Regions from separate parts of the Homo sapiens genome. Here region 1 is linked to region 2. The links are contacts of gene promoters, found by promoter capture Hi-C in human tissues and cell types (Jung and others, 2019). All regions are on one chromosome and are shown on one strand. The core of a region is centred on a gene start or on the middle of the fragment in contact, and the rest is flanking DNA. Distances in the headings are between cores, read along the strand shown.

Region 1 (6,983 bases), core at 4,459-6,958, 48 kb before region 2:
GGAAACAGGGGCTTCAGCACCTCTCCCAAGGCTGAGCCTGCGAGGAGGCCACGTATGCACAGCCCTCAGGTCCTTGAGGAGCACAGCTCCTTTATCCGACAGACTGGGGCTCTCCAGCCATGGCTCTGAGGACCGCTCGCCCAGCTCCAAGGCCCCAGGGATTCCTCTGGACTGCCTCTGTCAGTCCCGTTAGACCCCAGCCTCTGAGTCCTTCAGCAGTGCCATGTGTAGGCAGTAGGCACCAGAAGGGGCCAGGAAATCCTCGGGAAGCAATTCCCTGGCCTCCAGTTCCTGCATTGCTTCCCAGGTCACTTTCTGAGCCTCTTCCCTACAGCTCTCTGCCCCCTCCCCCGACTGCCCAGGTTCTGCCCAAGGCCCAGAGGTGGCTCTGGGTGGGAGAGAGATGGGAGGGAGGGGCTTAGGTAGCTCAGAGGGGGGCCAGAAAAGATGCTGAGGCCCTTTTGGGCTGGAGGGAACTGGGGTTGGGGGTGTGTGTGTGTCAAGTGATTGGTCCCCCTCCACGACATCCCCTGGAGAAGGATTTTTCAGGCCACGCCCTCCATGCCCCCTGGTGATACAGATCAGGAGGGGAGGTGGGCGGTCAGGCAGCCAGTCCATCTTATGGCCAGCTGCCGGGCAGGCTGCTGGCTGGTCATTAATTGCTGGGTCAGTCGCTCAGCCCCTGCAGAGCTGAAGACATGTTAACGGGCAGGAGTGAGGGGTGGGGTGTGCTGAGAAGCCCAGCAGGGACCTGGAAGCTCCCAGCCAATGAGGGGTCCAAGCCGAGTGCCACAGATCCACCAGACCGAGGATAGGAGGCCAGGGGTGTGGGCCAGAAGGTGGGATGGGGTCTGGAGGGCCAATCAAAGGATTTGAGCTGATGGTTCTGGACAAGCAGGGGCCCACTGACGCTTTCTGAGCTGAAGGGCTGGCAGCTGGAGGCCTCCACAGAGCCCACTGGAAATCCTGAAAACTAAAGCTGAAGGGCAGGGCAGTGTGCCTGGTGCTTCACGCCCTGCCACCAGCACACATCACCCCTGCCAGCTCCAGGGTTCCACTCCGCAGCCCCCCGGGTCCCCTACCTTATCTCCCATCTACCCACCTTTGAGGGCCAGAGCTGGCATCGCACCCGGAAGCCGCATGGTGTCCTGCAGAGTTAAACAGGAGTCAGGGCCCAGGGCAGGTGGAGGCAGCGACAGGGGCTATCTCACCACCTGGCTCCTGCAGAATGAGCCCCAGCTTGGGCCACCCAGCCTTCATGTCCGAGGGGCTGAAGTCAAAAGCCACCACGTCCCAAGCCTGAAAGGGCACTCATGACCACAGGCTGTCTCCTCTCCATCCCGGACTTAGCCTTGGGGTCCTGGCCTTTGCTTTGGCTCTGCTTGTGACTCTCACGTGGCCTCGGCTGCGTCCCCAGACTCTCTCTGTGCCTTAGTTTCCCTGTCTGTACAGTGAGGGAGGGGAAGTTGGGCTGGATGGTATCCAGTAGCCTACCAGCTCTGACAGCCTGTCCTCCGGGTGACAGTTCCAATACCAGGCTCTTATCTGCCAGGACAAATATTTGGGAAAGTGTGATGAAAGGGATGGGAGGAGGAGGGGGGAGGCCAGAACCCAGAGAACTCCCGCAGCTCCACAAGCACAACAGGAAATGGAGGAGGCTGTGGGCTGTGGGAAGGGAAGCCGGGGAGCCGGGGCTGTGGAATGTGGGAGGTGGGCCTGGACACCTTTACTCAGCCCAGAGCATACAGGGAGGCCCAGGGGACAGCGGCTAGGGGCTGGGCCCAGGAGAGGTCCCATCGAGCAGCCAGGCCTCACAGGTCCTTGGAGACCAGTGAAGCCAGGCTCCCCCCACCCCCACCCCCAGGGTGCAGATGGGGAAACTGAGGCTCTGAGAAGGTGAGAAGTTTACCCAAGATTCCACAGCAGAGCCTGTCTGAGAGGGAGACAGAGAGAAAGAGACCTGGAATGATAGAAGTAGAAAGAGACAAAGACACAGAGACAGAGAGGAGGTGCCCAGAGAGACAGCACCAGAGGCACTAAGAGACAGAAGCAAGGACAAAGACAGAGACAGAAGCAAGGACAAAGACAGAGACAGAAGCAAGGACAAAGACAGAGACAGAAGCAAGGACAAAGACAGAGACAGACTGAATGGGGTGGCCCTTGCTCTCCTCTATCTTGGAAGACACACCTCAGGTCCCAAGAGACCACCAGGAGCCAAGTATGCCAAGAGTCTGCCTGCAGCATTGGCAGGAAGGACGCCAGAGGACAGGGGTCGCAGAGCATGAGCTTTGGGAGGTGACGGCATGATGAGGCAACAAGGAGCCTCCTCTGGCTGTGGGGCTGCCCAGCCTGGCCTGCCTCTGAAGGCCATGCCCAGCTTGCCCCTACCTCCCCATCTCACCCCTTTTAGTTTTCAGTTTAGGTCTGCAGACCGGGTTCAGGCCCCAGCATGCCACCTCTTGTGCCATCGCTCTCCCTGTGGCCTAAGTCCCCAGCTCTGGAAGTGGATGATGGTGAGTACCTCACCTACCAGGGCTGCATTCACATGTCAGGGGTGGGACATAGGCAAGGCTCCTCCCGCCTATGGACCCCCAATCTTAGCTCTTCCCAACACCCCAAGAAACAGTCTGAGCAAATCAGCTCTTCTCCTCCCTCCTCCCTTTCAGACTGCCTGCCTGAAGGTCTCCTCGTTTCTTCCTCTCCCCTCTCTGAACTGCTCCTGACTCAAAGCCCAGCCCTTCTGACGCCCCCTCCAGCCTCTGCTCCCCACCATTCCTCTGCCCCAGCCCCTCCAGCTGGATGCCAGGCCTCCTTGGTCAGGAGGGAGCAGCGCCAAGGCGGAGCCAGCAGCCCCCACAGAGGCCCATCTGCCCCTCCGTCGGTGCCCCTCTGGCTGCCCCCTTCCTGCTAGAGATCTCAGCCAAAGAAAATCATTAGCAGAGGCTGGGGGAGGGGGTCACTTCAGCTTCCCTGCCCCTCCTCTCCCAGTCTCCCTGGCTGGCCACACTGTTTATTATTCTAAAGGAGGAATTTGGCCGGCTGGCCAGGAGAAGGGAGGTCACTGCAGCGGGGCTGGCCTGGCTCTGGAAGGCTGGGCTGGCTATGTGGGCTGGGCCTTCATGGCATGCAGCCCCCGACCCTCCTCCCATGTGGCACTCCATCCTCTCCCCTTCAGGCTCTCTTCTGCTGGGCCTGGGGCTGGGGGTGGCTTAGAGACTCTGAGCTAGGAGGTATGCTTTTTGAATGGGCAGCAGAGGCCCAGAGAAGGACAGAAGCATGCCCCAGTCACACAGCAAAAAGGCAGATTCAAGCTGTGGGGAGAGGACAGGCAGGCAGTGTGGATGCCGTAGGGAGGTTGTAGGCACCCCAGGGATCTCGGACTGGCTTTACTATGAATAGAGCAATCAGCTCCCCTCATAAGCACCCTGGGACCCACTGTGAGACTGAGCGAGTCTCCAGCCTCTCTGAACTCTGCGTCCCCATCCATATAGAGAGGTTGGCAGGTGTCATCTCAAAGAGCTGTCCCTATGGTGAAGCTCTGCCTTTCTGACAGGCCAAAGAGAAGATTCTAGTCACCACGAATCTTACCGGGGTGTTTTGAGGAGGTGGGGGCTAGTAAGCAGGAGGGGGCTACATTCCTGAGGCTAGAGTCACATAAGAATCCACCAGCCATCTCATTCCACGAAAGGAATTTCCATGACTATTCAGCCACAGACTTGCTGTGCGGGCTTTGACAAGTTGTTTCCCTCTCTGGGCCTCAGTTTCCCCATCTATACAATTAAGAGTTAGACCAAGGCTGGGCATGGTGGCTCATGCCTGTAATCCCAGCACTTTGGGAGGCCGAGCCAGGCGGATCACGAGGTTGAGAGATCGAGACCAACCTAGCCAACATGGTGAAACCCCGTCTCTACTAAAAATACAAAAATTAGCTGGACATGGTGGCAAGTGCCTGTAGTCCCAGCTACTCAGGAGGCCGAGGCAGGAGAATCGCTTGAACCCAGGAGGCGGAGGTTGCAGTGAGCTGAGATCACGCCACTACACTCCAGCCTGGTGACAGAGTGAGACTCTGTCTCAAAAAAAAAAAAAAAAGTTAGACAACAGTGTTTCAACAGTGTTTCAGGGGACTTTCCGCTGGTGACGTGGAACCCCAGGAGGTGGCAAGGAAAGAGTGGTAGGGACAAGAGGCTGGAGGGCCAGGGAGGGCAGAGAAGGGCTTAGGGCACCCAGACATGACTTCCCAGGCCATCCTGGATGACTCCCTGATACCCCACATTTTCCACCAAATGTGTTAGGCCTCTTTGTGCTTCCCAGAGGCTGTTCTGGTTCCAGCCAATCCCAGGGAGGCCCAGGCAGCTGACTTGGTGGTAGTGGGCTTGCCTGTGACAACTTCCCCTCTTTAGGAGGACTGTACTCTAGGGAAGGGCCACCTAGGACAAGCTGGATGTCACAGTCAGAGAGCAGGCACTCCCCCTATCTGCTGTACTCTCCTGCCCAGGGAGGCCTCTAGAGCAGAGAGAGGGAGGGCACCCCTAGGTGTCCCCCTTTTGCCCATGAAGAGAGTGCTATGTGCCAGGAACCCCTCCTGATTCCTCCTATTCTGGCCAGGTTGTAGGCTCAGAGGCCCAAAGTGGAGATCATGCCCAGCTCCTCACGTGACTCAGAGGGACCCCTTAGGGGAGCAGAGTGAGGACCCCAAGTCCGGGGCACAGAGTGGAACCCCAAGTTCAGGGGAGAGGAGTGGGGGGCCCCAAGTCTAGGGGAGCGGAGTAAGGACCCCAAGTCCAGGGGAGCAGACTGGGAACTCCAAGTCAAAAGGAAGCAGAGTGGGGACCCCAAGTCAAAGGAGCAGAGTAAGGACCCCAAGTCCAGGGGAGAGGAGTGGGTGCCCCAAGTCCAGGAGAGCAAGCATGCTTGGGGAGTCATTCTCAGAGCCCCAGACTTCCCTCCTCCCAGCACGTACAATTCTCCACTCCTTTCCCACCGCCTTAATCTAAATAAATCCAGCCCATCTTGGCCACATCCGCCAGCAACAGCTTCCCTCCCTCAGGGTCCTGAGGCTCCCACGACACAGGCAGGCCAGGGAGGGGGCCCTGCATTGCTGCGGGGGTTGATGGGGGGAGCCTGCACATGGTCAGCACATACACACAGCACAGATGCACAGATGCCTGCCTACGCACTTCCTCGCACACTCCTCTGAAACACATACGTATGCAAGAGGCCATGTGGGTGCCAAGCCCTCATGCAGGTACTAAACATGTACACACCCACACAAAACACATGTGCGCAGCTCCCACTGTGCCCAGCACCCGTGGAGATGCACCCGTGTGCAACAGTTCACATGTGTATGCAGCACATACAACATGCACAGAACATGTGCACATAGAACCCCAAATTCACCTGAACACACAGCCATATGCATGAACAGACAAGCCAGAAAGCCCGTGTTACTGCACCAGGAACCATTCTGAGCATTTGGCACGTATTGGCTCACTTGATTCTCCATCAACTCTATGAGGTAGATACAGTGATCATTTCCATTTTACAGTGGGGAAACTGAGGCAGAGAGCATTTAATAACTGGGCTAGGAACACAGAGCCAGAAGGGGTAGAGCAGAGATTAAAGTGAAGTGGTGTGACTCTGTGTTCTATGCCACCAGCTCCACCGCTTCTCTGACCAACGTGCATGTTTGGTTGGGTCTGGGGAGAAGGCAGTGGGGACTGAAAAAAACAGATGGATTTGAGAGTTACTTAGCTGAGAATCAACAGGACTGGGTGACTTAATATTGAGGGGCTGGAGAGGGAGGTATGCACCTCTGTATCTGGCTTGGAATACTGGGAGGCAGAAGTGTATGTGTGTGTGTGTGTACACGCGCACGTGCTGAGGGGACGATGCCATTTTCTGAGATGAGAATGAGGTCAAAGAGCAGGAGTGAGAGCTGCAACTGAGCAGGTTTAGGATAGGGAGGGTCTGTGGGCACTGAGGGGACAGTGGGATGTTCAGTCTGGAGGCCAGGAACAGGCCGGGTAGAAACAGCAGTGAGATGAGAGAGAGAGGGCCATGCTGCAGGGAGAGGGGGGTGCTGGGGGCAGGCAGTCTCAGGCCTGGGATGCTCTGAATAAACCAAATGCCTGAGGGAGGAGGAGGCCTGGCCATGGGGTTATGGGGTCAGAGTCTTGGAATGTCAGCACGCCAGAGCCCTCAGGGATCATCTATCTGATCTAACTGCCTTCCTGTGCTCCATTGTGCTCGTGGGGAAACTGAGGCTTAGGGAAGGAAAGCAAGAGGGCCCATTGTTTTGGCCTAGACAAGATGGGCTCGGGTGATCGGTGGGGCTGAAGCTCACCTGGCTGCGCAGCTCCCCGCCTCCAGCCCCTGCTAAGATGTGAGGCTGGTGGCTCAAGGCCCCAGGCTTCAGGCTATAGCTGCCCCTGCCCTCTCCACAGCACACCTCTGTCCTGCCACACATTGACCTTTGTTTCAAAGTCACATTCTCTGCACGAGCCCAGCCAGGCAGGGATTGGCGACTGAGACTCAGAGGAGGTAATTTGCTAAGTTGTTGGGAGAAGTGAGCCACAGACTCCAGTCTCCTGACCCAGTCCAGTCTTCTGTTCTCCGTACCGGGGCACTTTACAGGCCTGGGACAGACTTTGGAGGGGGGTTGGGGTGGGAAGTAAGAAGACCTGGCTCTAGTCCCGGCTGTGACACCCACTTATAGGATAGTGGTCCCCCCTATCTGCAGGGAATACATTCCAAGGCCCCAGTAGATGCCTGAAACTTTGGATAAAACCAAACCCCATACATACTATGTTCTTTTCCCTGCAAATACATACCTATTATAAAGTTTTATTTATAAATAAGGCACAGTAAGAGATGAACAACAATAATAATAAAATAGAACAATGATAAAAATATACTGTAATAAAAGTCATGTGACTGTGTTCTCTCTCTTAAAATATCTTACTGTATCGTTCACTCTTCTTGTG
Region 2 (6,308 bases), core at 2,031-4,530:
TGTTTACATACAATTTCAGGGAGTCCATAGACTCCTAACCCTGGGCTGAGAACCTGTCTTATGGAAAAGCCAATCCCATCATTGATTGCCGAGAGATTGGTGTGGACCGAGCAGAACAGTTGCAGCACTACTCTAGGGAGGGACTTGGTGGGGAATGGAGTGTTCTGAGGAGGGCTCCAGCAGTCAAGGGTGTGTGTGTGTGTGTGTGTGTGTGTCTGTGTGTGTGTAATGGGCTGTGATAGGGGTACAAGGGTTAGAACAGGAGGACTGTGGAGCTCTGAGGAAATCAGCCCGGCTCTGAGTGTTTGAGATGATCTGCCAGAGGGATGCAGAGCTGGGGAGCACAGCCAGCCTCCGCCAGGGCAGCTTTGGAGGGCAATCCCGTTCCAACCAGGCAGCTCTGGGATCACTTCCTCTGAACCACTCCAGATGGACTAGCAGCCTGGAACCTTGTTTTTTACAGTCGTCACTCCCTAGTGTGACAAAACACATGCTCTACAGTGATAAAATCTGAATATTTAAGCAAATTAAAAATGTTTATTTATATACATTTAAAAATATCTCCCTATATAATAAAAGGAAGTACAGTTCATCTGACACTTTCCTTAAATCACACACACACATCTCCATTGCACTTCTGGTTTGATATGAGACCACAACAGGGAGAGAAGGGGGAAAGGGAGAGTGAATATTTACCATTTGGATTCCTAAGCAGTCATTTTGCCATGAATCAAACCCCCTCTGGAATGGGGGAGAGGAGATGGTGGTGACAGCAATTGTCAAATGTGCTTGGTTGCCAGACTCCTGGCCAGTTGTATGATCATAAAATTGGAGCTTCAGTGGGTAGATTGATTTATGTGGATAATGTCTTTTAGAAAATCTTGGAGTTTTGGCTGGGCACAGTGGCTCATGCCTGTAATCCCAGCACTTTGGGAGGCAGAGGCAGAAAGATCCCTTGATCTCAAGAGTTCAAGATCAGCCTGGGTAATATAGCAAGACCCTGTCTCTACAAAAAAATACAAAAATTAGCCAGTCATGGTGGCACACACCTGTAGTCCCAGTTGCTTGGGAGGCTGAGGTGGGAGGGTAGCTTGAGTTCAGGAAGCGAAGGTTGTGGTGAGCCGAGATGGAGCCACTGCACATCAACCTGGGTAATAGAGCAAGATCTCTCTCAAAAAAATAAAGAAAAGAAAATCTTTGAGTTTTGTTTGTTTTATGAAAGGGCAGACTTTCCCCACCAGGGCTGTGGGGATGGAGGTGATGGTGGCAGAGAGGTATGAGCTAGAGGGCAGAGCCTGGGTGAGGTCAGACTCCTAGGTTATAGACATGATCCTGTCTTTACTGAATCACTGAGTGATTTTGCAAATCCTGCCCCTCTGGGTCTCAGTTTCCCTATCTGAAAGGCATGGGCCTAGATCCATTTGCACCTCACAGTCCCAGTGACTGCCACAGTGGCTCAGTGGTCACCCCCTGATGTGTCTGCTCAAGGGAAGCTAAAGCCCTGGTCCACTCCCTTCTTCTCCCCCAGGGCTGGGTCCGTGAAGTGGGAGGAGCAGGTGCTGCTAGGAAGGGTCATAAAGAGGCCAGTCTTCTTGGCTCCTGAGCCAACTGCCTCATCCCTGCTCGCTGTCCCTGTGGCCCTCTGTGCCTTCCAAAGGGTCTCATGAAACCCAAGTGCCAATGGGAGGGAGTGGTTGAGCAAGGTTGAGCCTCTTTTGTACAAGATGCATTGACAAGCCTTGGGTGAGGGATGGGGAAGTTTCCTGCCTGGGCCTCCTTGGATTCAGGAGCCCTTGGCTTCTGCCTTTCCCAGCCATGACCCACAGCTTTCCTGGCTTCATCCCCAACGCCCAGTGCATGACTTCACTCCTCTGGGACAGTTTCCACAGGTGTAAAATGAGATGCACAAACATGTCTTCCCAGACAGTTGGAAAGAATTAAAAATTAGATGTTGGATGCAAAAATCCTTCATAATGCACACAGTAGGGCTCCATAAATGCTCCTTCTCTTCACACTCACAGCCACTCTTGGCCCCATATGGGTCAGCAGGCAGGGGGCAGAGGAGACACCTTCCTCCTGGGTCTGGAGAGCCCCTGGTTTGCCCTTTGTGGCCAGGCTCAAAGGGGAGAGAAGTTTGACAGGACCTGGGCAGGGGAAGGGGTGGACTGGAGCCTGGCCAGGCCTTTACCCAAGTCCATGCTTTGACTTAAACCCCTCCAACCTTTTTTCAAGCTCCAGAGGTGGGAGAGAGCAGAACCTTATTCTCATCTCTCCCCAAAGGCCTCCCACCGTGTCAACTGATAGTGAGCCAAACAGATGTATGGTTAATGTCTAAACTGGGACACTTGCGAGGGTGAAAAGGACACAATTTGTAATGTATATACTGATCCGCTAGTGTCTATCAGTCAGTCCCAGCAAACCAACGTGTGCCATTGCTCCAGCTCATCATTTCCCATCCTAGCCACAGGCTCACTGGACCCTCAGAACATTCTGAGGCAACAATGCATGGGCGGCTCGTGGCCCATTTTACAGATATGAAATTAGAACTTTCCAGAAGCCATACTGCTGCTGGACAGGAAACCAGTTACTAATCATCTAAGTCACAGATCACAGTGACACTGTGGCACTTGCCTGTCCCTTCTGCTCACCCAAACCTCCCCATTTTGCTTTCATCTTAAGGAAAGGAGGAGAGTTGAAGACTCTACTAGCCTAAAGGTCCATGAAGCCTGACTCTGTCCCTGGTGTCACTCATTAGCCCCGTGACTTTGAGTAAGTAACTTAACTTCCCTGTCCCTCAGCTTCCTCATCTGTAGAATAGGAGTAACGACACCTGTCTCTCCAGGTTGAGAAAATAGGACACCTAGTTCAGGACCTGGCACATTTTAGGTGCTCAATAAATACTGATAGATTGAATAATTGGACTAATGGTGGCGTGGGCAACCCACAGTCAGTGAATAAATGTTAACTGAGCACCTACTATGTGTCAGGCTCTTTGTGCTAGATGTTTTCTATGCTCCATCTTCCTGAATTGCTCACACTCCTGTAAGAGAGGAGAGATTCTTATCCCCTAAGGTCGCACAGCAAAGACGACGCAGGGGGGTGGGCTGTTAGTGTTCCTTGCCCAACTGTGGAAAGGGAGTCCCAGAGAGGGCAGGTCGCTTGCCCAAGGTCACGCAGAAAGCCGAGGGTTTCCGTCGCGAACCCCCCTCCCCACTCGCTCAGGGCTCTCCAATCCGCAGCTCTGCGTGCGGGGGCGCGCGCATCCCCCCGCCGTCCGTCCGTCAGCTGTCTGTCTGGGTGTCTATGCGGGCGCAGCAGTGCACCCTTCCCCAGCCTCGGGCGCTGCGCAGGGACAGACAAGGCATTCGCAGCGCCCTGCCCGCGCTCCACGCCCGCAGCCGCCAGACGGCAGCGCCTGCGTCCGTGCCCGCCCCAGCCGGTGCGCGGGAGCCGCGGGGGCAAAGGCGCAGTGGCCAGCGGACCATCTCTCGTGCCCTCGCTCTCTGCGCTCCGGGGCAGCTGAGCCCCGGCCACCCGCTCTCCAAGATGAAGAAGCTCCAGGGAGCTCACCTCCGCAAGGTAGGGCACGAGGGCGGGGGCGCTGGGGGTGCACCTGGAGGAGGGTTGGAGAGACCCGCCCCCAACGAGGCCCCTGGGGAAGGTCTGAGGATGCACCCAGACCAGCTTCGGGCTCTGGGGAAGGCCCGACTCAGCTGGATAACAGGGAGGGTCAGGGTCACGGTCTGCGCCCCCACCTCTGCCCCTGCCATCTGGGGTTCGGGATGTAGTATGAGGGGAGTCCTGGTTCACTGGGCCAGGCCTATGAACAGGTGTCTGCAGTCCCCGGAGGCGCGGGGTAGGGGCGGCCGGGGCCAGGCACCCACCTCTTCCCCAATTCCACCCTGCTGCTCCCCGCCAGGAGCTGATTGCCGGGTGTGGGGGGTATTGGAATACCTGAGCGTTGAGCTGGACTCATCTGAGGGGTGGGGAGTGGGAGGCGGTCATCCATACTGAAGCCGGCTCCCTGAGCCTGCGGGAAGACTCTCCTCTTTCCTGCCTGCTCCCTCCCCGCCCCCTTAGCTTGCCTGCTGAGACCCCAGGCTGCCCCTCAGCAGGGCTGAAGGGAGGCAAAGACAGGGAGGGGGCTATCGGAGGCAGGAGGATATGATCAATGAAGATGGAAGCTGGTATGGGAGAGTGGCTGTGGGCCCAGACCTCAGGCTCTCCCTACCTTGCCTTGTGGGATTGGACCTCTCAGCCAAGCTGTCAGGATATGGGGAGGGGGAATACTGGGGGACGTTTTCTGGCTTGTACCAGTCCTAACTAAGGAGTCAGATCTCCTGAATACTATTTCTGCCGCTGCCACTTGCCTGGTGACTTTGGACAAGTTCATTCTCTAACCTGAACCTCCTCTGGCTAAGCCCTAGCCTGGAGGCACCAAAACAGGCCCCACTGGGTGTGTGAGGTGTGGGGAAGAATGCTAAAGGGCTGGTAGATGTGAGAAGACTGTTCTCAGGGGCTGGTGTTATCAACCTCCCTACATACACACACATTCACACTCACACTCACTCACACACACACTCATTCATTCAAGTTCTCTGCTCTGGGGCAGCTGGGCTTGGAACCACTGTGGTGTGTCTTTTTTCTTTTTCTTGTTTTTTTTTTTTGAGACGGAGTCTCGCTCTGTCACCCAGGTTGGAGTGCAGTGGTGTGATCTCGGCTCACTGCAAGCTCTGCCTCCCGGGTTCACGCCATTCTCCTGCCTCAGCCTCCCGAGTAGCTGGGACTATAGGCGCCCGCCACCACGCCTGGCTAATGTTTTGTATTTTTAGTAGAGACGGGGTTTCACCGTGTTAGCCAGGATGGTCTTGATCTTCTGACCTCGTGATCCGCCCGCCTCGGCCTCCCAAAGTGCTGGGATTACAGGTGTGAGTCACTGCGCCCAGCTGGTATGTCTTTTTTATTCACTGACATGAGTGACTTCTTGAGACCATTTGTGAGTCTCTTGGGTCCTGTTTCCATTCTTTTCCACTCTCCTTCTCTTCCCTCTCTGCCCTCCCTCCCCACAAGAGGCCCTGTCCCTCTTGCTGGGTGCTGGGCTGGGGGGTTAGCAAGCTTTATCTCATTTAATCCTTTAACACTTCCAGGGGCTAGGTCTTAGTAGCCCCACTTTATAAATAAGGCAACTGAGGCACAGAGGGGTGAGACTCACTGCTTACCTGCTGGCAGGCTAGGCAACCTAGAGCCAACAGGGCAGAGGGTTGGTTCTAGGTTGCTACCTCCTCTCAGGGTCCTTTCCCTTTTCTCAAGCAGAATTGGGCGGGAATGAGAAAATGCCAGATTTCCGCAAAGGAGCAGCATTGCTCAGAGATGAACACTGGACTTAGAGTCAGGGGATCTAGGTCCAAGTCTTGCTGTGCCTTTAACTTGCTGTTTGACCTTGGGCTCATCCCTTCTTCCTGAAACTTGGTTTCCTAATCTGCACAATGATGAAGCTGGACCCCAGATTCCTATTGTCTCTCTCTGTCCTGAAGAGTCTTGGCTTGGGCAGTCTTGAGTCTCCCAGCCCCTGCTGTGAGTCCCTAAAGGCGAGCATGCAGGTCTGACAAACTCAGCTGTGTGTTCCTGCATGCCCCTGGGGTAGGGAGTGGGAGATTCAGGAGTGGGAGGCTTACACCCAGGAAGAAGTATGAAGCAACTCATTCAGCTTCCAGCCCTGCCCCAGCTATTTGATTGCTTTCTTCCATCTCCCAACCAGCCCCATCCTCACTGTGCCAGCCTCCTGGGATTCACCCCATGGTGGGGTTGGGAACTCCAGTTGGGCTCCTGATTGGCTCAGCTTTGGAGGACCCTATCTCCTGCCCCTGGAGCAGAAGCAGGCTTCCCTCTGATTGGGGGAGGAGGGGGACGAGCTGGCAGCATCCTGCTCTTGGAACTCTAGTCACCATGGAAACAGAGAACCGGGACCGCTCCATGAGCATGGAAAGGGCAGCTTCTCTGGAGGGATCAGAGGATCCTCATTACTGGGACCTCCTGCTAACTGGCCTGAATGGTGCTGGGATGGGCGGGGGGTGTCTCAGGGTAACAGGCCTGCTCACCACCCAACACCAGGAACAGTGGCAACCATTCCTCCCGGAGCTCACCTGGGGTGAGAGGTTGCTGAAGGCTGATGCTCACCCAGCTGGAGAGGCAGCCTCAGGGAACGGGGCATTGGAGGGGAAGGGTGGGTTTCACTTAAGTCTGGGATCTGCTGCTCCTGTCACCTCAGCATGTCCATGATCACAGCTAAAGAACTTCCAGGCATGTAT

Evidence for each region. The method cuts DNA at HindIII sites, captures the fragments that hold promoters and counts their contacts. A contact is called where the count stands out against the background at its distance.
Region 1: a fragment that was not itself captured here is called in contact with the fragment with the promoter of SLC6A7 in region 2 in 1 of the 25 tissues and cell types used here (mesenchymal stem cells).

Annotation. Positions count from the first base shown.
Region 1 is chr5:150,135,906-150,142,888 of GRCh38, forward strand. It overlaps PDGFRB (platelet derived growth factor receptor beta), which reads right to left. Exons shown (of 23, transcript NM_002609.4): 2 at 1,103-1,148. The coding sequence starts at 1,142. Among named protein-coding and RNA genes, the nearest start is that of PDGFRB, 16 kb to the right of the region's middle. RefSeq lists enhancers at 1-152, 153-662, 663-1,174, 1,685-2,196. The HindIII fragment of the contact is 5,542 bases long and covers 2,938-6,983 here.
Region 2 is chr5:150,186,782-150,193,089 of GRCh38, forward strand. It overlaps SLC6A7 (solute carrier family 6 member 7), which reads left to right and starts at 3,281. Exons shown (of 14, transcript NM_014228.5): 1 at 3,281-3,579. The coding sequence starts at 3,547. RefSeq lists an enhancer at 1-49. The HindIII fragment of the contact is 16,922 bases long and covers 1-6,308 here.